Linked DNA regions of Homo sapiens: all the other regions are linked to region 4. The links are contacts of gene promoters, found by promoter capture Hi-C in blood cells and fetal thymus (Javierre and others, 2016). All regions are on one chromosome and are shown on one strand. Each heading gives the region's core, a stretch centred on a gene start or on the middle of the fragment in contact. The rest is flanking DNA. Distances are from core to core; before and after follow the strand shown. Region 1 overlaps ICA1-AS1 (ICA1 antisense RNA 1). Region 2 overlaps ICA1 (islet cell autoantigen 1). Region 3 overlaps ICA1 (islet cell autoantigen 1). Region 4 holds the start of UMAD1 (UBAP1-MVB12-associated (UMA) domain containing 1). Region 5 overlaps ICA1 (islet cell autoantigen 1). Region 6 overlaps ICA1 (islet cell autoantigen 1). Region 7 overlaps ICA1-AS1 (ICA1 antisense RNA 1).

Region 1 (2,963 bases), core at 175-2,674, 660 kb after region 4:
TGAAATGCATACTATTTCCCTCTCACATTTAAATTCTCAATTTGTGATGTGTAGAATCTTAATATTTCCTTTAGTGCAGAGTGACCGGCACCTCCAGTTTAATCCTTCTCCAAAATGGTTAACTCAGAATTCTCACCATTCCCAGTCTCGGTCTCCACCATGGTGCTTTAATTCTCTTTTTTTCAATACTATTTAAAAGTATCATCATTGGCCGGGTGTGGTGGCTCACGCCTGCAATCCCAGCACTTTGGGAGGCCGAGGCAGGCAGCCACCTGAGGTCAGGAGTTTGAGACCAGCCTGGCCAACATGGTGAAACCCCATCTCTGTTAAAAGTAAATAAATAAATAAATAAAAATACAAAAATTAGCCGGGCGTGGTGGCACACACCTGTAATCTCAGCTACTTAGCAGGCTGAGCCAAGAGAATTGCTTGAACCTGGGAGGCAGAGGTTGCAATGAGTAGAGATTGTGCCACTCACTCCAGACTGGGCGAAAGAGTGAGACTCCGTCTCAAAAAAAAAAAAAAATTATCATCATTATTATCTTGTCTGTTCCTGGTTCTTTCCTTACTATGTAAGAGAAGCAACCCAAGTCGCAGTGCATTTAAATGCTTTTCCTAAGGCTCTAGTAAGGGCAGTTAGAAATGGAAGCCGGAACTTTAGATGGTCTGGAGCGTGGTCTGGAGTCTTTACAACACACCCAAACTATCCGCACACATGGAAGGGTGAGAACCTCCCTATCCAATTCCTTTGCATCAGCTCCTCCTTCCTTTATTGTCTATGGCTTCTGGGACGATTGTGAATAAGAGAGTGATCCAACAACAGAATGTGGAGACAACCTCTCTCCCCTCTGTAGCTGTGTCCACTTTGGCTTTTGATACAGGGAGTAGAGTCACAGACAGGCATGTATTCACTTTAGTTTCCCTAGGAACGCAGACAGGTGGTTCAGACAGAAATCAGAATTATTTATACATGACTGTAGGAAAATATTTATTCAGGGAACTCTGACCATTTTATGCTTGAATCATTTATATTCTCTACTATTTAGAGCTGCAGTTGGCCTTGCTATCATTTATTTATTTGTACATTGAGTCAGTGAAGATAAATTTTCTTAATTTTTTTTTCCTTTTTTTTTATTTTATTTATTTATTTATTTTTATTATTATACTTTAAGTTTTAGGGTACATGTGCACATTGTGCAGGTTAGTTACATATGTATACATGTGCCATGCTGGTGCGCTGCACCCACTAACTCGTCATCTAGCATTAGGTATATCTCCCAATGCTATCCCTCCCCCCTCCCCCAACCCCACAACAGTCCCCAGAGTGTGATGTTCCCCTTCCTGTGTCCATGTGATCTCATTGTTCAATTCCCACCTATGAGTGAGAATATGCGGTGTTTGGTTTTTTGTTCTTGCGATAGTTTACTGAGAATGATGGTTTCCAATTTCATCCATGTCCCTACAAAGGACATGAACTCATCATTTTTTATGGCTGCATAGTATTCCATGGTATATATGTGCCACATTTTCTTAATCCAGTCTATCATTGTTGGACATTTGGGTTGGTTCCAAGTCTTTGCTATTGTGAATAATGCCGCAGTAAACATACATGTGCATGTGTCTTTATAGCAGCATGATTTATAGTCCTTTGGGTATATACCCAGTAATGGGATGGCTGGGTCAAAAGGTATTTCTAGTTCTAGATCCATGAGGAATCGCCACACTGACTTCCACAATGGTTGAACTAGTTTACAGTCCCACCAACAGTGTAAAAGTTGTTCATATTTCTCCACATCCTCTCCAGCACCTGTTGTTTCCTGACTTTTTAATGATTGCCATTCTAACTGGTATGAGATGGTATCTCATTGTGGTTTTGATTTGCATTTTTCTGATGGCCAGTGATGGTGAGCATTTTTTCATGTGTTTTTTGGCTGCATAAATGTCTTCTTTTGAGAAGTGTCTGTTCATGTCCTTTGCCCACTTTTTGATGGGGTTGTTTGTTTTTTTCTTGTAAATTTGGGTTCACTGTAGATTCTGGATATTAGCCCTTTGTCAGATGAGTAGGTTGCGAAAATTTTCTCCCATTTTGTAGGTTGCCTGTTCACTCTGATGGTAGTTTCTTTTGCTGTGCAGAAGCTCTTTAGTTTAATTAGATCCCATTTGTCAATTTTGGCTTTGGTTGCCATTGCTTTTGGTGTTTTAGACATGAAGTCCTTGCCCATGCCTATGTCCTGAATGGTAATGCCTAGGTTTTCTTCTAGGGTTTTTATGGTTTTAGGTCTAACATTTAAGTCTTTAATCCATCTTGAATTGATTTTTGTATAAGGTGTAAGGAAGGGATCCAGTTTCAGCTTTCTACATATGGCTAGCCAGTTTTCCCAGCACCATTTATTAAATAGGGAATCCTTTCCCCATTGCTTGTTTTTCTCAGGTTTGTCAAAGATCAGATAGTTGTAGATATGCGGCGTTACTTCTGAGGGCTCTGTTCTGTTCCATTGATCTATATCTCTGTTTTGGTACCAGTACCATGCTGTTTTGGTTACTGTAGCCTTGTAGTATAGTTTGAAGTCGGGTAGTGTGATGCCTCCAGCTTTGTTCTTTTGGCTTAGGATTGACTTGGTGATGCGGGCTCTTTTTTGGTTCCATATAAACTTTAAAGTAGTTTTTTCCAATTCTGTGAAGAAAGGCATAGGTAGCTTGATGGGGATGGCATTGAATCTGTAAATTACCTTGGGCAGTATGGCCATTTTCACGATATTGATTCTTCCTACCCATGAGCATGGAATGTTCTTCCATTTGTTTGTATCCTCTTTTATTTCCTTGAGCAGCGGTTTGTAGTTCTCCTTGAAGAGGTCCTTCACATCCCTTGTAAGTTGGATTCGTAGGTATTTTTTTCTCTTTGAAGCAATTGTGAATGGGAGTTCACTCATGATTTGGCTCTCTGTTTGTCTGTTGTTGGTGTG
Region 2 (3,210 bases), core at 80-2,579, 550 kb after region 4:
TACTTAATCTTAAGAACCATCTGCCTGGAGTGAAAAGGTTAAGAGCATGCTCTTTGAAGTCAGAGAAATTTGGGCTCGAATGTTTCTATTTAGGCTTACTGCTTCTGTGATCTAGAACAAGGTCATTTGATCCAAGCCTTAATTTCCAAATTAGTAAACAGAGACACAGTATTTCAAAGCTATTGTTAGGATTAAATGAGATAATATATACAGATGGTATCTAAAGTGTATATTGATTATACATACAGTGCTTGGTGCATAGTAAGCACTCAAGAACTGATGTCTGTTATTTTTCCAGGCATGTAGGAGCCTGGGTTAGATGCTACAGGAAACACTTTGTTAATCAGACACAGTTTCTTTCTTCAAGGGTCGTATTCTGAAAGAGGAGCTATACAGCATATAAATAATCATGATACACATTAGGAAGTGTTAGGTGGCAAAAGAGTGGTTGTATAAAGAACCCTGGGAGAGTTTTGAAAGAGTGGAGGAAGTAACATTTGAATGGGCCTTTGAAAAAGGGGAAGCTTGTGGATAGGCACAGATCAAGCGACAGCAATTCAGATGAAAGGAACAGGGGGAGGAGACAGGGAATCCTGGGATACATGGTTTGGCTAATGGGATAACAGCAGGGTGGCCATACAATTTATTGTCCAAACAGGGACGCTCTCTGAGTGAAGAGGGCATCATTAATAGTGAAGCCTGGACAACAAACATAAATGTGGACCATGCCAGACACAGCAATCATCTGGTCACTGTGGAGAATAGGCTGTTGGGAATACAGTATTGGACCTAGGGAAGGAGAGTGGGCTGGGTTTGTGTGGTTCTGAACGACAGGCTGAGGGCTTTGCTTGTTAAGCAATGGGGAGCTGCTGAAGGTCCTGAGCAGGGAAGTGGCCACAGTAGAGTGGTTTTTCAGGAAGATGAGGTTGGCAGCTCTGTGTAGGCTGCTATACAAATGGAGACAGGGGATGGATGACAGAGAGATTTCCAGGGAAGAAATGATGAGATTTTGAAACCAAATAAATGGGTCAGAAAAGAAGAAAGTGAAGCTGAATCTAAAGTTAAGATTTCAAGCTGAGGTCAACAAAAACAAGGAGGGCAGGAAAAGGGGCAGATCAGGGTAAGATATCACAAGTGTACTTTCATGCATAATGTACTCAATTTGATGGGTTCCATTACATATAAGTGACAGGGCCTCAACGTGCCACTGAGAAGGGGAAATATGAAAACTAGTTAGAGTTGTATTCTTATTCCAGTAATGTTGTCTCCATTTCTCAAAAGATAAGCTATTCAATATCTCAGTATAGCACACAGGCTATTATCTTGTTTTGCATTTATTTTATATATCAAACACTTAAAATTGGGCAACAAGAATGTTTATGTTGTGCTTAATATGGACCACACTCAGTTCTAAGAACTTGACAAATATTACAGATTTAATCCTCATTAGAATCTTATGAGCTTGACGTGATTACACTTATGTGTCACTTAACGATGGGGACATGTTCTCAGAAACATGTTGTTAGGTGATTTTGTCCTTGTTCACACATCATACAGTGTACTTAAATAAACCTAGACGATATAGCACCTATTACACACCTATACTTTTTTACAAAGTATATATTATATTACAAAGCATTATATTACACATGAGATGGCCTATTTCTCTTAGGCTGCAAACCTGTACAACATGTTATTGTACTGAATACTGTAGGCAATTGTAACACAATGATAAGTGTTTGTGTATCTGAACATATCTAAACATAGAAAAGGCACAGTAAAAATATGGCATAAAAGATAAAAATGATAAACCTGTGTAGGGCACTTCCCACAAATGGAGCTTGCAGGCCTGGAAGTTGTTCTGGGTGAGTGAGAGTGGTGAGTGAATGTGAAGGCCCAGGACATTACTGTACACTACTTTAGACTGCATAAGCACTACACTTAGACTACACTAAATTTATAACAAATGTTTTTCTTTCTTTGATAATAAATTAACCTTAGCTTACTGTAACTTTTTTACTTTATAAACATCTTTAAACATTTTTAAATTTTTTGACTCTTCTGTAATAATTCTTGTCATAAAGCACAAACACATTGTACAACTGTACAAAAGATTTCTTTATATCCTTATTCTATAAGCTTTTTTCTATCTTTAACTTTTTTCACTTTTTAAACTTCTTTGTTAAAAACTAAGACACACATTAGCCCAGATTTGCACAGATTTAGTATCATCAAGATGTCACTAGGCAATAGGAATTGTCAGCCCCATTGTTATCTTATGGGACCACCATCATAAAATGTCATTATATGGTACTTGACTGTGTCTCCATTTTTCAGATGAAGACACTGAAATATTCAGAAGTTAAGAAACCTGCCTGAGATTATACTGCTACGAAGTGGGGAAGCCACAGTTTGAACCCAGGAGATGCTCACTGCAGAGACTGAGTTCCTCACCAAGGCACCAGGCTGTTTCTTACGCTAAAGGCATCCTAAGGGAACATAATGGAATGGGGATTGGAAAAACTCTTAGATAATGTTTTCTTGGGGTGTTTTGTTATTTATATGAAAAGAAAAGATTTTCCAGTTATAATTATCAAACTGCTTTCATAGAACCAAAATAAATAAGATACTTTGAGAGTACAGGAAAGTTATATAAGTTCACATTGCATAATGACACACTTATTTGGTTTCTAAGTTTCATCATTTCTACGCTGAAAATCTCTCATCTTTTCCCTCCTCTCCATTCTTGTAGCATCCTACACAGAGCTACCAAAATTAACTCTCCTCAAAACTGCTCTTCCATGGTCGCTTCCTTGCCCAGGAACCTTCATACCGACATAATTTCATAATGTCCGATATCAAGGCACAGAGTCAAGATTCCAACCTGAACCACTCTGTTATGCCACCTTCCAAATGACAGGTGACTTCTTTGAATCACTTCGATTGTTACTATTTTAAAAGTGAGTGTGGAGTAAGGGTGGAAGCCTAGAAGGGATTTTTGGTAGAATTATAATTAGGGCATTATAAATATAGGACAGCAAGAGGTAGCTGGGACTTCAGAAATATTTTGGGAGGTAAGGAATATTTTAAACTTGGGAGTACCAGAGTTGCTGCCAATCCTGCCTCTCTTCAGGGCAGGGAAGGCCCCAAGGAGAGCAAGAGAGAACCTTTTTTGGCCATGGCTCCCTAGGGCAGAGAAGAAGCAAGCAT
Region 3 (2,922 bases), core at 194-2,693, 580 kb after region 4:
ATGCCCCTACAGACCAACAGAAAAATGAAAAAAAATTTTTTTTAATTAATAGGGAGGAAAAAAAAATCCTATGTGTTAATCTTAATTAGAGAGTTAAGTACAAACTGCCTAACTAGTGAGTACAGAGCAGCTCCTCAGCCTCAGGCAAAATCCTTCTAAAGAACACTGTGAGATTCCCTTTCGTGAGTAGGTGGGTCCCGGAGTCTCCTCAGATCCCCCCAGATAGAACCCCACTAAAGGCCACACACCTTTGCTGGGAAGAAAAGCAGAGGGCCTTTCCTGTCGCTTGCATCATCTTTCCTGCTCTGGTTTTATCTTGGAAACCTTGGGATCGAAGAAATTTTCCCAGTTCGTTTTCTTCTTGAGACAAGACTGATGAAGAAAAGACCAAAAGGAGCCATGAACAATGAGCATTTTGATTGCAAAGGGAACAAGAAAGACAAATCACAAGGTCCTCTCTCTTCCAGAGGCGAAGACGAGATGAAATTAAATCTAAGCGGCAGGCTACAGGGTAAGCTCCCCCTACCCCCCATTTAACTTTCAGGCTGTTCTTCCATTTACAATACGAGAGATCAAATTCACTTGAATACATCTGTCAGTGAGTTTGGTGCCCTGTAATCAGAACTAGAAAATGACCTCTGTACTGAAACGTAAGCCCATAGTGTGCGGCTTCGAGCTGAAATAAAGGAGTTGGGTTTGTCAAGTATGACTGTGGGAATCTTTTGTGGCTGCCTAGGATGCAGTGCTAGCTGCCTCTCATTATTCTCTCCTGCTGACTTTTGATCTCTGCTTTTTGAGTTACATTCTATTCCATTGTAAAGCAATTCAAATACCTCAGCTGTGACACAGGTTTTTGGTTGGAAGTGGGGGTAGGGACGGAGGGTGGGGAGGTCATCAGGTTGATGACAGTGGGTTTTAAAAATACAGAGCTGGAACCAAATCTGAATTGGTGATGCCTAATCTTGGCCTTATTTTTAAAGACAACCTCAGATGGTATTATTGGTGGGTAAGTGATTTGGTGCAAGCTTTCTGCAGACTGATTTGACGGTAAACATTTAAAAAATCATAGAATTACATGTATCTTTGGACTCTCCATGTCTACTGTTAGGAGAACTTCCTAAGGAAGTAGCAAAATGGGCACAAAGATGTAAATGCAAAAACAATCATAGCATCATTATTTATAATAGTGAAACACTCTCCTTATACTAGGAACTAGTTTAATAAAATACAGCATACCCACATAATGGTACAGTGGGGGTCCTGAACACACACCAGCAGCCAAGCCACAGGCACCAGAGTGACACTTAGCTTCCTCGGATGTGCTTTCCCCCTAAACACAGCATTTACTATCAACATACTTTGAACACTACTTTTATTTCCTATTTCTGTATTGATGTATTTACATACCCTGTGTCTCTAAAACTGCTTTCTAAATGCTACTAGGATTCTTGTCAGCTTTCACAAACCAGTCACTTTTCTTTAAGAATGCACCCCCATTCCTGACATAATCTCACTAACAATAATTGTAGGACATTAGGCAGGAACCACAAATCCAAAGGTGAAGGCTAAACTCGATACTGCTACCTTATTAATTTGTGACTATAGTTTCACCCTAAACATTCCCTTGGGAAGGCCCAGTCAAGAAGAGGCTTTTAGAATCCATTTTTCCTGAGAGATAAATGATGACCCTGCTTCTCTTCTGTCTCTCAAAAATCAAGTTCACCATCAAAGGCCTGCTCGCAGGTTCCTTTCTCTGTGAAGCAATTGATCCCTATTTCTCCGGACAGCAGTGCTCTCTGGGCACCTGACTTAGCACTCACCTTGTGTGACTGGGCATGTGTCTCTCTTCCCCAGGGGGCTCTAAGCTTTCCAAGACAGGGATCTCACCCAAACTTTGTATTCCCCAGGCTGAGCATAAAGTCTTAAATTCACGGTGCTAATTAAATGCTTGTGAATTGAATTGACTACAATTTTGCCTTGTTATCCTCATACACTTTATTTCAGTTGAAATACTTATTGCCTTTTAATACTCACGCCATGGTTCTATGTAGCTTTTTAAAATTCCTATAATTATAAGAAGGTTTTTTGTTTTTTAATACATTCCATTCCTTCTCCTCCCCACTGATTAATATGTGCCTCACTCAATTCCACAATGAATCTTTCCCTATGGAAAGCAATGTCTCATTTTTGATCTTAATCGTGTGAGGCTACTGTCACCCTTTTTACCTTGAAGTCTCAAGTCACATACAAATGAATGCATTTAGCTTAAGGCTAGGAAGAAACCAATTTGTGGTACCTGAATAATTACATGGTTGACAAAATGTACTCTTTCCTAAATAAACCTAAGTAGGCTGAAACATTTAAAAATAATTTTCGGTCATTTTAGGCACTTGTGGATCAACTTGGGGCAGCAAACAGGTTTCATTTTAGGTGCTGACTCTGATTACTTGGCAATACTTACTCAGAGGGCAGTGGAAAGAAGTGTGAGCTCCATCAGGGTCAAGGTTAGATTTTCTGAGAAGGGATGGTCATTCTTTAATTTTAAAAATTCAAATACTGAAATTAACTTACAGAAGTTTAAAATTCAGGTATAACATAGGTATCAGGTAACGCAAAAGGGCTGAGTGTGGTGGTTCACACCTGCAGTCCCAGCACTTTTGGGAGGTAGAGGCAGGAGGATTGCTTGATACTAGGAGTTCAAGACCAGCCTGTGCAACATAGCAAGACCCCTGTCTCTATTACAAGAAGAAAGCAAAAACAAAAAAAGATAACTCAAAATGTTCTATTAATAAGGTTTCAATTATCTGGGACTTGAGAATTCAGAGACAAAAACATTTTTATATTTACTTGCTAATTAGGTTTTCAGATGTGCCGTTAAAAACAAGGCAACTATGGAACTATGAAATTAATTAGCTGGACAGC
Region 4 (3,212 bases), core at 212-2,711:
ATAATCTTATGTTATCAAATCTGTTCATGGAACACACAGTTAATTTCTGAATTTCAGATAAACAAGGATTTTTTTTGTAGTGTTAAGTAGGTTCTGTATTTGCTAAATATGGCAACCCTATTCTGATAACAAATTAAAGGATGCCCACCCTAAAAGTGAAATCTGCTGGCACTCATGATTTAGACAGTACATATCCCACGGAGGGTATGTTTTAAAAAACAGGCATGATGAAGTAAAAGGAGAACTGGTTGCTAGAATATCTGGGTCCTACTCCTGGGAAGCAGCTGTAAAGAGCGCTGTCAGATTGCGTTTGAATGCCAGCTTTGCCATTTGCCGAGTTTCTGAGCATTTTAGTCAACCACCTACCACTCCTACTCAGTTTCCCTACTTGGGAAGTCAGAGCAACACTCATTTAAGGAAGAGGATGTGTGGATGAAATGAGCTACTAAATAAGTCTTTATATAATAGTTTTCTTTTCCTCAGCTTTTCAGGTCACTGATTCCAAGACTTTGGGCCTGTTTCTCGCCTGTAGAATGAGGGAACTTCACTTTAATACTGGGGTTAAATAACTCGTTACTACGGGACCCAAAGCGGACAACCAAGGCATGTTTTACAGAGAAGCGATCACAACGAGGAAACGAGGTTTGCAAAAATAAGTAATTTCAGAAGAGAAGGAAACCAGCAGATTAGTTTTGTCTGCGTCCGTCACGTCTGAGTAAACTAAGAAATCTGAAGGTAGATGTGGGAGTGGTGTTTATAATTTCCCTTACGTAAGCACGGCTAGAACGGAGGCGACGGGCACTGGAATTTAGAACTCAGCATTTGAAAACACTTTGTTTCCGTGCCATAAAAGAGCGCCAAAATGGGGCTACAACGGCTAAAGAATTTCCAAAAAGTTCCTTGTGCAAAATAAAGGAGTCGGGGGCGCAGTGATCGGAGGCTTTCCGTCCTTTTTCATCCCCCGTTATCCAGGCGGGGTCCCTCCCTCCAGCTACGGACTTGGGAGCCCATGATTGCGAACCCGCACACCTTTTCCAGCCTCCCTACGAAGCAGACAGGCTTGTCGATGAATTGAGCTAGCATGCCGGCGTTGATGCGCGACCTGGGCAAGTCCATCATGTCCACCATGATTATGGTCCAAGACTGCGGCTGGCGGGAAACCCACGGACGACTGAAACTGTGCGCCCCGCGGGTGTCTATGGGGCAGATTTCTCGGCACCAATCAGCGAAGACTAGCGCTCCAGCTTCGCCAATTAAATGCGCGGAAACCTAAATCGCAATCGCGCTGTCTCTGAAAGGGGTGGAGAAGGGGCTGGATGAGTCCGGAAGTGGAGATTGGCTGCTTAGTGACGCGCGGCGTCCCGGAAGTTGACAGATACAGGGCGAGAGGCAGTGGAGGCGGGACTTGGATAGGGGCGGAACCTGAGACTACCTTTCTGCGATCACAGGATTCCCGGCGGTGACTTGACCCCGGAAGTGGGGTGTGAAGCTCCGGTGCTGGTGCGGCGGGGGACTGCGGGGCCAGCCTCAGGTACCTCGTCTCGCGGGAGGCGCCGCAACCTTACTGTTTCCCCATTCTTCCCGCGAACAGAGTCAAAAGAGCTAGGCGGGAGTCGGCACTAGCTGCTGCCGCGGTGCTGTGGGTGCTGCGTACCAGCTGTTCACTGCTGTCTCGCCTTCCCTCTTGCCAGTTCTGCGTGGGAGGCGCGGGAGTTTTGCGGAATGATACGTGGTGTGGCGTCGGGGTTGTGATACCCGCCCCCTTGGAGATGGGCAGCGGGGTCATCAGTGATCTTGATCACTTTCTTCAGGCTTTTGCCACTTGTTGGCTGAGGGTCGATTTACTCCCTTAGCTGCGTCACTCTACTTTCTCCACTTTCTCCACCTGTAAGAAGAGAGATTGATCCGATTACTTCTAAGACGTTTTTTAGCCCAACCTGGCCACACTGCGGAGGCGCCGGTTCTTTCACCCCGCTAACCCCTCCGTGTTGGCAGCCAATAGAAGCACTTAAGGATGGGTAACGGGGAAGAACCACTGGCCAGTACTAGGGGAGACAAGCTTAAATCGTTGTTAGACCCCGAGCTAGGGTTCCCCGAGCTAGGGTTCTCCCTTCTGAGGCGTGTTTTCCCCATCTGCAAAACGAAGGGTTAGGCGGAATGATTTGCAAGGTCCCAGTTGACTCTGACTTTTGGCCATATGTTTGACTCAACAGTTTAAACCCCCTCAGCAGTCTTTCTGTCGTTGCCCTCCACACTGCGAGACTCTGGAGGGCGATCTGGAGGTCTGGAAGATAACCGATTCCTGGGAGATTTGGGGGTAGTCTCCAATCTGTCCCTGGCTCATCTTGTGACCCGAAGCCGGCGGCCTTGCCAGGAGTATTCTAGAATGAGTGCACATAAAAATACCTTCAAACGGTACGGTGGAAATTGGACAGAAGTTTTAATTGGGTATTATAACGTTGTGGAAACTGAGTCTGTGAATTGGCCCAAAGCTACAGAATTGTCATCGTTCAAATTCCCTTAAGCAAAAAAGATCCGATTTGAGACTTCACGTGGCAATTTAAGATTGGAATCTCATGTACGATAATTAAATGATAGTCTCCCTTAGTGTTTCCTTAGCACTTAATAGGTTTGTCTTAGTTTTACTCACTAACGGTACTTTAAAGGATTTCATTAAACAGATGTAGAATGTGTGTCAGTGGTGTATAAAAAAGTTGTGGTTGTATTGGTGCAAGTCAGTAAAGTCTATTTTATATTACAGCTTTAAGTCTTTTGTACTTTAGCATTGTTTTGCAAAGCAAGTTGATGTGCATTATATAGGGGAGAGTACACACATCAATGTCTTTAATAGCATTTTTTTTTGAGGCAAGATCTCTCTCTGTCACCCAGACTGGAGTGCAGTAGCATGCACATAGCTCACTGCAGCCTTTAACTCGTAGGCTTAAGCGATCCTCTCACCTCAGCCTGCCAAGTAGCTGGGACTATAAGCACATACCACCACACCCAGCTAATAAAGATTTTTTTTTTGTTGTTTGTTTTTTTTTGTTCAGATGGGGCCTCGCCATGTTGACCAGGCTTATCTCAAACTCCTGGGCTCAGGCGATCCCTCCCTCCCCCGTCTCCCTCCCAAAGTACTGGAATTACAGGTGTGAGCCTTGGTGCGTACCCTGTAATAGTGATTTTTTTTTTTTTTAAAGAGCACTCCTGTGAGT
Region 5 (3,051 bases), core at 100-2,599, 560 kb after region 4:
AGAGATGATTTAAAACAGTACAGAGGAAGCCAAATTTTGATTGACTCAACATTTAAACTGAAACAACAGAGGCTTCTTAACCTTATTCAACTGACAAGTGTAGAAGACCCCATCATGCTGCTCATGAAGAAACTGCTTTAGTTCCAGAAAATAAGGGGATGCATGTGTCAATGTGGTCTGAGTCAAATTATAATCCCTTCCACCTGGCCCTGACATGTTCTGACTGTGTCACATTGAGACAGTTATGTAACCTCTCTAAGCGTCAAAATCCTCATCTGTGAAAAGGAGATCATAGTGTCTTCCTCTTGGGGAGTTTTAACGAGCCCATTCATGTAAATTGCTTAGAACTGTAGCTGATACATGATAAACTTTTTAAATGTGCTAATTTTGTTATCACTTCTACTTTACATTCAATGTCAAAGTTTCTTTTATTCTGTTCAAGAATGGCTAACTACATCTTTGTCAAAAAATGTCAAAGTACTGTATTTCTGACATTCTTCATTTATGATTTCAGAACCTCTAGTGCATTCCCACAAGCACAGAAATGCCATTCTGGGGATGAATGAGAATTACTGTTTTTATATCACCCTTGACTTTTTCTCAGCTTAGTAAACATCTTGGTACTCACCACAGAAATTACCTCCAAGCCAGGAAGATATTTCTTAAGAATAATGTTAGCTGTAACAAACTGCAGAGTAAAATGATGGAGGCATCTGTAGGACCTGGTGGTGAGCCTGCTCTGTCTTAGGCTGATTACTCCTAAGAGGAAGAACCAGCTATAGGCAATAGACACACCGCACGAATGGGGGAAAATGCAGAGGGGAGGATTCCTTTGTGAACCTGTGGGCAATTTTAACATGCATATCAGGACAGGACAGTGTCAGAGTGCTCCTGGCAAATTCCTTGTGATTAACATGGGTACATTAACTGTCAGAATTGTTTGCTGCTGAGTATTCAATAATAGATATTAACTAACCTGGGGCTCCATTCTAGCTCTTTCAGTTTTCTGTATCAACCTAGAGAACACCAAGGGGGCTTTAGCTGAAGCAGGAGAAGAGATTTCGTTAGAAAGGTTAGTACTGATTCTAGATAAACAAAATAAGTAATTTTTGAGTGTCTGTGATATACAAATTTCTAGGCTCTAAGCCTTAGGTAAACATGCATGTAAGTACTAAAAAGCACATTAAGCCTTAATATAGTAGAGTTCCTGGGAAATCCAGTGGTTTAAGTGACTTTTCCATGTAGGTAAAGCATATTCTATTAAAAAAAAAGTTAAGACATAAGAAATCTTCATATAAGTCAGATACCTCTTATTAAATGTCTATCTTCTAAAATAGAGCAAAATTGCCTTTTTTGATGGATCAGTCATCATCATGAACATCAGCTATTTCACGATGGTGCTCTGAGAAAGTATTTCTCAAGGTGTGATCTATGGATCCCAGAAAAGGAATTATCTGGGAGCCCATTAAAAGTCAGATCTCTGAGCCCCACCCCAGGCCTCCAGAATCAAAATCCTTAGGTAGAAGCCAGGATTCTCCACATCCAACTTGCTTCTCAGAGGATTCTTACACTCAACTCAGGCCAGAGAGGCCCTAATTCAGAGTGAGTTGAGATGTTCTTCACTGGAAATGTCTGCAGGGGGCCTGTTAATTTTCTGTGCCTATTTGCTGTAGGGCTTCTGCTACTTTCCTCTTATGACCGCAAACCTTTCAACAGTGACAGGCTTTAAACCTGTGGGGCAATTTGCAGAGGATCCTTTGCTGGATGCTGGCCTTTGTGATGTCTACTTTCCAACCATGAGCCTCAGCTTTGGGTCCCTGAGTTGAGCCTACTCTTGCAGGATTCAGGCGCCAGACAGACCCCAAGGAATTCAGGCTCTAGACCTGCCATTTCACCTCAAAAAACGACTCCCAGAATAAGGTAGAACAGAAATGTGAAACGCCAAACCCAGAAATGTGACTGGATGTTCAAGAGACAGAGAGATTGGTGAGAAGGAAAAAAAAAAGCCCAAATACTCCTTAAGGGTGCTTGGAACATGAAACACTGGGGTCAGAAAAACGAGTTCAGAGGACGTGGCATGTGCTGGAAGATGTGACTGCTACTTGAACAGGAAGCCAGGTCTCCTCTACCCCAGAAACCTTTTTTTCCAATAGTAACCTAATATCACACAAGGATCTGTTTATCGGATTGTAGTAATATGGGGCTGGAAAGCCGAGAAGAGCACTGACTCTAGAGTCAGAGGCTTGGGTTCAAATTCTAGTTCACACGTATGGCTATGGGCAAGTCAGTCATGGCTGCCCTGTGGTCTTATCTGTGAAATGGGAAAAAGAATTCATACCCTCGCTAAACTCTTGTGCAGTTTTAACGAAGTAATGAATATGAAACAGCTTTGTAAACTGTAGAGAACTTTACCAATATTTAATCAAAAATATTCTGCATTATGTACATATTTAAAGAGCTGCTACATCTATCTACAAGGCAGAATGTTAGGGAAAACTCTAGGCTGGGAAAAAATTCAAATATGTTAATTTTCTTACATAAATAAACCTATCACATTGTTCATTGTGGAGTTTAAATATCTGCTGTGCTTTTGTACTAAGAAAAAGATATTTTTAAACAAAAAATGAGCAGTCTTTTGACTTTTGCACAACTCATGTTTAACGTTCTTTTAAAGTACGTTTTTCTTATTTTCTGGATTAAATCGTAAGAAAGTTCATCAAATCTTCATTATATTTTCAAAATACTCTTTCCTATTGTCATCTCCTTAATGTCAACTTTACTTGCACCATTTATTAGCTGACATTGCAGAACAGTGGGGAAAATGGGGACATGCCAGGGAGAAAGGAGGGACAATTAAGTCCACAATGAATCTAATAGGTTTTGCCTAAAACCTAAAATACACTAAGGATAAGGAAGAGGGAGTCTAACTTACGAAATCTAACCATTGTCTGGTTTCACATCATGACTTTTAGCTGTTGCTTTTTATTTTAAAATGGAAGACATGCAAAAAAAAAAAAAAAAGGCGGGGGGGTGGGCTAAGCTAATTCTTTC
Region 6 (3,109 bases), core at 74-2,573, 610 kb after region 4:
CCTGAGCATTCCACACAACTGCACACAAGGCTACAGTGAGCTCTGATCCCCTCACTGCACTCCAGCCTGGGTGATTGAGTGACTACACAACTTTAAATGGATCCTGTTTCCAGTTTTGTGCCTTCTGCAATGATTTTTGATATTTCATAAATTCACAAGTAAATGTGAAATGGGATCATGTTTTAATTTTGTGAGTCAGCAAATATCACCAAGAGGAAAACAGAATTGTGATCTTATTCATGGTAGCTAAAAGGTGAGTTTTTATTTTAACACTACAGATGCAAGCCACTGTTAAAATCTGTGTTTTCTGTTAATGAACTAAAGTCTTAGGATATTTTCTTTTATTAAAGAAATTTTTTTTTTGAGACAGGATCTTGCTCAGTTGCCCAGGCTGGAGTGCAATTGTGACATTACAGCTCATGCAGCCTTGACCTCCTGGGCTCAAGTGATCCCCCCCACCTCAGCCTCTTCAGTAGCTGGGACTACAGGCACTTGCCAATAGGCCCAGCTAATTTTTTTATTTTTAGTAAAATGCCTCCCAATGCTAGTCTCAAACTCCTGAGCTCAAGTGATCCACCAGCTTTGGACTCCCCAAGTGCCAGGATTACAGGCATGAGCCACTGTGCCCAGCCAGATATTTTTAAATGATTGTTTTATTTACATTTCAAAAGAACTCAGGTGTTATATACAATGATTAAGTTATATACAATGATTAAGTTTAATGACTCCCTAAAACTATTAAAATCACATTCCTAAAGTATGTATTTTGAAGGTTTCCCAATATGCTCCTTGATATAAATAAAAGCTGGTAAATCCATGACTATGTCACACACTTAGTCATCACTTCAGCGATCTGGCTTCACTTTGCTCATCTGTAAAACAGTAGACTAGGCAAGTGGCCATCTAGGATGCCCCCAGTCACAAAAATAAAAAACTCAAATTATTTTCAGAGACATTTACATCTAAGATAAAGCTTAGAGATAATGAACACAACATCCTTTTCAATGATTAAAAAATTGGGGTTCTAAAAATAGAGATGACTTGTCCAAGATCAGGTTAAAGGTCAAGTTCACATAGAGGAATGCTGGGAATGAAACATTCATCAGCCAGTTAACAATTTGGTGCTCTCCTCTGTCTCTTCATCTATTCCAAGAGATGTTTCTGAAAGGAAAATATCAAATATAACAGAAACCAAAATAAAATTGCCAAGCTACTTTCTAAAATGTCATCTTCAGCATTAATATTATTGTAAAATTTTTAAATATTATATCCATGTAAAACAAATTAAAAACAAACCAGAAAACTCAAACTGCTCACAAAAAGTGTGGTCTAGGTCTTGCTCCTCTTTCTTTTGCTTAAAGCCCTCCTTTCAAAGGATGATCGATGGTGAATTTTGTGCTACACCAAAAATCATGGCAGTAATAACAAAGAGGTAGGTATTTGCAAACCACAAACCTAAAAGAAATCTAGAAAGATAAAAATATAAAGTGTAAAACAACACTAGAAACAGAACAAATGGGTTACCTCTGCTAAAGAAAAAAGTAATTTTAAAAGTTTGCAGTATAAATTATATTCACCTTTGATTTTATTTAGTTTGGTTTACATAAATTTCAAATATCAAATCAAATTTCACATACAGATTTTACTCTGTATTTATGGTGGTGTTTTCTCTAAAAGCTTAATTTCAAAAGCTGAAGAATGAAGGAACACCCTAATCAGATAAAAGTCTCGATCAAGTTCTGTGAAGGAATACTACGCCCTTCGATGTCAGCACAGAACATTATTAAATCATAGGTCTAAATGTTATCCTTATATTTTATTGGGATCAAATTATAAAACTTGGAAGGCTCTTACAAATCTTACTTTAAAGAATTGCACCAACTTAAATTTTCTTTTTATGGAAGAATAACCTCAGATAAATTGACTTTATCATCTAAGACTATGCAGTCCAATATAGCAGACACTAGCCACATGTAATATGAGCACTTGAGATACGGCTGGTATGAATTCAGATGAGCTCTAAATGTAAAATTCACACTGGATTTTGAAGACTTAGTAACAAAAAATTAAAATGTCTCATTAATAAATCCATGTATTTATAGTTATAAAAATTATTTCATGTTGATATATTGTATATATCTAAATTTTATATAACTACATTTATATATTACATATTTACATATGTATATTATATATTCTGCTTTATATTTAATTATATTTTTTGCTTATTTATTACTTTTTTATATTTTACGTTGAAACAATATTTTGAATATTTTGGGTTAGATCAAATAAATTATCAATTTAATTTAAGCTGTTTCTTTTTAGTTTTTGTTTGTTTTGAGACAGGGTCTTACTGTGTTGCCCAGGCTGGTCTTGAACTCCTAGGCTCAAACAATCCTCCCACCTCAGCCTCCTGAGTAGCTGGAATTATAAGCATGGCACACGCCACAGCCCCCACCTTATTTCTTTTTAGTTTTTAAGCCAAAAATATTTTACTACTAGAATGTTTTAAATTATATATGTGGCTGCTGTTATATTTTTGTTGGAGAGCCTCAGTCTAAGGCATCAAACAAATCAAAAAAGAGCTAGAAATTAATTCTATAACTTCGGTCACCAATATTCTGTACTAGTTACAAATACCCTTAAACAGTTATTTCTGCTCAGAATCTCTGACATTCTGTCAGAGATGTCATTACAAAAATAAAATCATATGTATCTTCTTTTGAAATAACCTACAAAATGATTGTACTCCATATTTTTACAAGTTTAAAAAGGTCCAAATCTGTGTGCACAATGTACTATTTGTGTCAAATTAGATTTATGTGAATAGTAAGTGAAGTGGTGGGCTACTATAAGACCATCAGAAGTAAAAATGTAAGGACAATGTGATGTAATATATACAATATGTATCCACAAATGTAAAATGTATACATATATTTAGAAATCACAAATATATATAGCTGACCCTTAAAGAAAATGGGTTTGGACTGCATAGGTCCACCTATACACCAGTTTTTTTCAACCAAAGGCAAATAGAAAATATATCTTCTATTTTTTTATAATCATATTTTTATATTTAAGTACATTTTTTGCTTATAATTAAATATAA
Region 7 (3,019 bases), core at 47-2,546, 630 kb after region 4:
TTGGAACATTGACAGCTGTTGAAAGGATGAGGTCAAGATTTTTTTTTCAAGTGAAAATAGCAGCTTGTATAACACAGTGTGAAATATGATTTTGTTTATGCAAATATTTTCTATGTAACATTAAAATCTTGTAATGATATTCACTAAAATGTTAACTGAAGCTATCTCTGCAGAGTGATCTTTTTTTGGCTGACATTGGAGGTGGGGGAAAGTTGTATTTTCACTTATACTCTTTGGTAGTGTTTGAATTTTTAAAGTGCACATATAGTATTTTGTAATTGACAAAAATAAAGATTTAAATTTTGACACCAGAACAAAATAAAAGAGATCCTCACATTTGAAAATGTTGGGAAATACTAGTTTAGATGACGTCTGAAATTCCTTACTGTGTAATATTCAATTCTTCTAATGACCTTCTAATAACCTTTGAGATTAGTCTAGTGCTAAAAGTCTTCTAGTGCTGAAAGTCCATGACTTCCTCCCCTCTTGCTGCCGCTGCCATGACAAATATGACTTGCTTAGGTAAATCTTGGACACTCCCTGATGGAGAGACCCTTACACTGGCTTATTCTTATATTTCTCATATTTCAAGTGACTTTATTCCTTGGTGACATCCTTGAGCTGATATAGGAGACCTGCAGCAAGACACTGGAATTTGAAAAGGCTAGAAGTGGCTCTAGGAGTCTCATCACCTCTTTGGCGGCCTAAGGTTGTACAGATGTGGATGGGAAGGGAGGAGCATGAACTGATTTTTTTATATCTGTATAACTAGGGTTTTCTATTTTATTCCCAGAGTAGTAGGATGGCTTATCATTCATTCAGTAAGCATTTATTATCTCAAACTTGATGTGACCGAAAAGTATTTTTTCTCTCAGAGCTCTTTCTTCTTATCTCGGCAAGCTTAAAAACCTCAATGTTATTTTGAATTCCTTCCTAGTAGTTTACCTTATGTGCTCAATTGGTTGCTAAATTCTGGTTCATTACAAGTCTATGATTCACTACAGGAAATTGCAGTTTCCTTTATAGTGTCTCTCAGCTGTCATATCCATTTTTCTCATTCTTATTTCCATTGCCTTTCTAACCCTGCTTCTTACCTGGAATTTAAAAACATCTTCCACCTAGGATTGTGTATTTTAACCAATACAAAATCAGCTTAGGTAATCACAAAATACATAATTTGCATACTTTTTGTGACTACTTTATGCTAAGAATCGAATGTGTGTGTGGGTTGTGGTGGGATGGGAGATGATATGTCAAGTAATAGAAGACAACTCAGGTCTTTGAGTTACTCTTTAAGTATGAAGCTAATTACATAATATTTTGATTGGCTTCAGTCCCAACTATAAAATTTTCAACGGGTTACCTCAAAATCCAATACCTAATCTAAACATTCGAAGCCTTTATCAGTCCTAATTTTCTTTATTCACCTCTCACCTTCTAATACTAATTTATGCATGTCCTCTCCTGGTCACCACCCCCCACATTCAGCCTCCTCCTTTTCCTGGACATATATTTACCAAGAACAATCACTGTCTCCTATTGCCAACGCCAAACTTGTAGTGTGTCCTTCAACTCCAGGTTGGAGTCCCCAAGAAACCCCTGGCCCTCCCTTTTCCACTTCCACCATTACTACTGCAACTTTATCTGTATGTCCCAAACAGTTACTAGAGCTCTGAATAAATGCTTGCTGAAGCAAGCTTAAATGAAATCTTTCTCACTTAGAAAAACAAGAGCCATTGGACCTATAACCATGACCCAGCTCAAACATTATGCATTCTCCCACAAGAGATATACTTAGGCAATTAGGTCTTTGAAGGCAAAGACTCTGCCCAGCTTGTGTGTTCCCTTACACATCCACCATAGTGCCTTGAATGTACAATGTTAGGTGTTTAATCAAAGTGTGTTGAATTAATGGATGAGTGAATAGTTTGTATACAACTAGACCCTCTGAGGGTGGGGTGTTAATTCTCTTGGCTGTGTTTTGATAAAGTCTCTCCATTAATTCTTAGCCATTTTTCAAACCAAACTTTGATACTCAATACTACTATTTTATAATACTACATGGTCTGATATTCTCTATTATAGATTTTCCAAATTTACTTTATCCCCCAAATCAGGTAAACACTTGTGAAATATGTACACTCACCAGGCTCCTTCGAAATCAGATTTTTTTTTTGTACAATTTATGGGGTACATGTGCCATTTTGTTACATTCATGGATTGTGTAGTAGTCAAGTCAGGGTTTTTAGGGTACCCATGACCAGAATAACGTGCCCATTAATTAATTTCTCATCATCTGCCCCCTTTCCACCCTCTCACCCTTCCCAGTGTTCATTGCCTATCATTCCACTATGTCTATGTGTACACAATTTTAGCACCCATTTATGGCTGGGAACATGCAATTCCAAATAGAAAACTTTGGTAGAGGGACCTGAGATTCTACATTTTTGACAACTAACTCAGCTGATTCTTATGGCCAGAAGAATCTGAAAACCCTTCTCTATCGTAAAATTCAATGGGTATTAGTTGAGGATAATTATTATATTTGAGCTTTATGTCAAATATAATTCTATGAGTATTAATTTGATGTCAAAACACCTGAACTCCAGTTTCATTCACTACCATCTAGGTGATTGGAGGCTAGTCTAGTTTTTCCCCAACTCTCCGCACATTAGAATCAAAGGGTATCTTTTAAAAATCCCAAAACTTAGGCCACACCCAGACCAACTAAATCTCAATCTTTAGGGCTGCCACACAGACATGAGTACTCTTTGAAGCTCCCCAGGTGGTTCCAACATGCAGACAAGTTTGGAACAGCTGGGATAATCATCTACCCTCTCTAAGCCAGTTTTTTCATATATAAAATGTGCTAATAACTCCCCTCCTAAAATATAATGAAGAGTTAATCTAATTAATGCATGTGAATATACTTTATACATGACAAAACTCCGTATAAACCTAACACATTCTATTTTAGGCTTCAAATATTTTATTTATATTTTTAAATGTATTATAAAGA

Evidence for each region. Contacts are between HindIII fragments. The CHiCAGO score rates a contact against its expected background, and 5 or more counts as called.
Region 1: a contact is called between a fragment that was not itself captured here and the fragment with the promoter of UMAD1 in region 4, in 3 of 17 cell types (fetal thymus, erythroblasts and megakaryocytes). The highest score is 11.8, in fetal thymus.
Region 2: a contact is called between a fragment that was not itself captured here and the fragment with the promoter of UMAD1 in region 4, in 14 of 17 cell types (total B cells, naive CD8 T cells, naive B cells and 11 more). The highest score is 10.1, in total B cells.
Region 3: a contact is called between a fragment that was not itself captured here and the fragment with the promoter of UMAD1 in region 4, in 10 of 17 cell types (fetal thymus, erythroblasts, non-activated CD4 T cells and 7 more). The highest score is 13.8, in fetal thymus.
Region 5: a contact is called between a fragment that was not itself captured here and the fragment with the promoter of UMAD1 in region 4, in 10 of 17 cell types (M2 macrophages, M0 macrophages, fetal thymus and 7 more). The highest score is 8.8, in M2 macrophages.
Region 6: a contact is called between a fragment that was not itself captured here and the fragment with the promoter of UMAD1 in region 4, in 2 of 17 cell types (M0 macrophages and erythroblasts). The highest score is 9.5, in M0 macrophages.
Region 7: a fragment that was not itself captured here is called in contact with the fragment with the promoter of UMAD1 in region 4 in 1 of 17 cell types (erythroblasts); the score reaches 6.1 in erythroblasts.

What each region holds. Positions count from the first base shown.
Region 1 is chr7:8,296,967-8,299,929 of GRCh38, forward strand. The region is part of intron 3 of ICA1-AS1 (ICA1 antisense RNA 1); the gene reads left to right. Among named protein-coding and RNA genes, the nearest start is that of ICA1-AS1, 36 kb to the left of the region's middle. The HindIII fragment of the contact is 4,184 bases long and covers 1-2,963 here.
Region 2 is chr7:8,185,598-8,188,807 of GRCh38, forward strand. All of the region lies in intron 6 of ICA1 (islet cell autoantigen 1), which reads right to left. Among named protein-coding and RNA genes, the nearest start is that of ICA1, 75 kb to the right of the region's middle. The HindIII fragment of the contact is 1,615 bases long and covers 523-2,137 here.
Region 3 is chr7:8,221,027-8,223,948 of GRCh38, forward strand. It overlaps ICA1 (islet cell autoantigen 1), which reads right to left. Exons shown (of 14, transcript NM_001136020.3): 5 at 249-372. Among named protein-coding and RNA genes, the nearest start is that of ICA1, 40 kb to the right of the region's middle. RefSeq lists an enhancer at 466-1,022. The HindIII fragment of the contact is 840 bases long and covers 1,024-1,863 here.
Region 4 is chr7:7,639,291-7,642,502 of GRCh38, forward strand. It overlaps UMAD1 (UBAP1-MVB12-associated (UMA) domain containing 1), which reads left to right and starts at 1,462. Exons shown (of 4, transcript NM_001302348.2): 1 at 1,462-1,531. It overlaps RPA3 (replication protein A3), which reads right to left. Exons shown (of 8, transcript NM_002947.5): 5 at 1,030-1,885. The coding sequence starts at 1,128. RefSeq lists enhancers at 643-692, 1,063-1,112, 1,383-1,582, 1,623-1,672, 1,753-1,922 and a silencer at 1,153-1,282. The HindIII fragment of the contact is 10,351 bases long and covers 1-2,057 here.
Region 5 is chr7:8,202,074-8,205,124 of GRCh38, forward strand. The region is part of intron 6 of ICA1 (islet cell autoantigen 1); the gene reads right to left. Among named protein-coding and RNA genes, the nearest start is that of ICA1, 59 kb to the right of the region's middle. The HindIII fragment of the contact is 3,510 bases long and covers 1-3,051 here.
Region 6 is chr7:8,250,556-8,253,664 of GRCh38, forward strand. The region is part of intron 1 of ICA1 (islet cell autoantigen 1); the gene reads right to left. Among named protein-coding and RNA genes, the nearest start is that of ICA1, 10 kb to the right of the region's middle. The HindIII fragment of the contact is 704 bases long and covers 972-1,675 here.
Region 7 is chr7:8,273,832-8,276,850 of GRCh38, forward strand. The region is part of intron 3 of ICA1-AS1 (ICA1 antisense RNA 1); the gene reads left to right. Among named protein-coding and RNA genes, the nearest start is that of ICA1-AS1, 13 kb to the left of the region's middle. The HindIII fragment of the contact is 797 bases long and covers 899-1,695 here.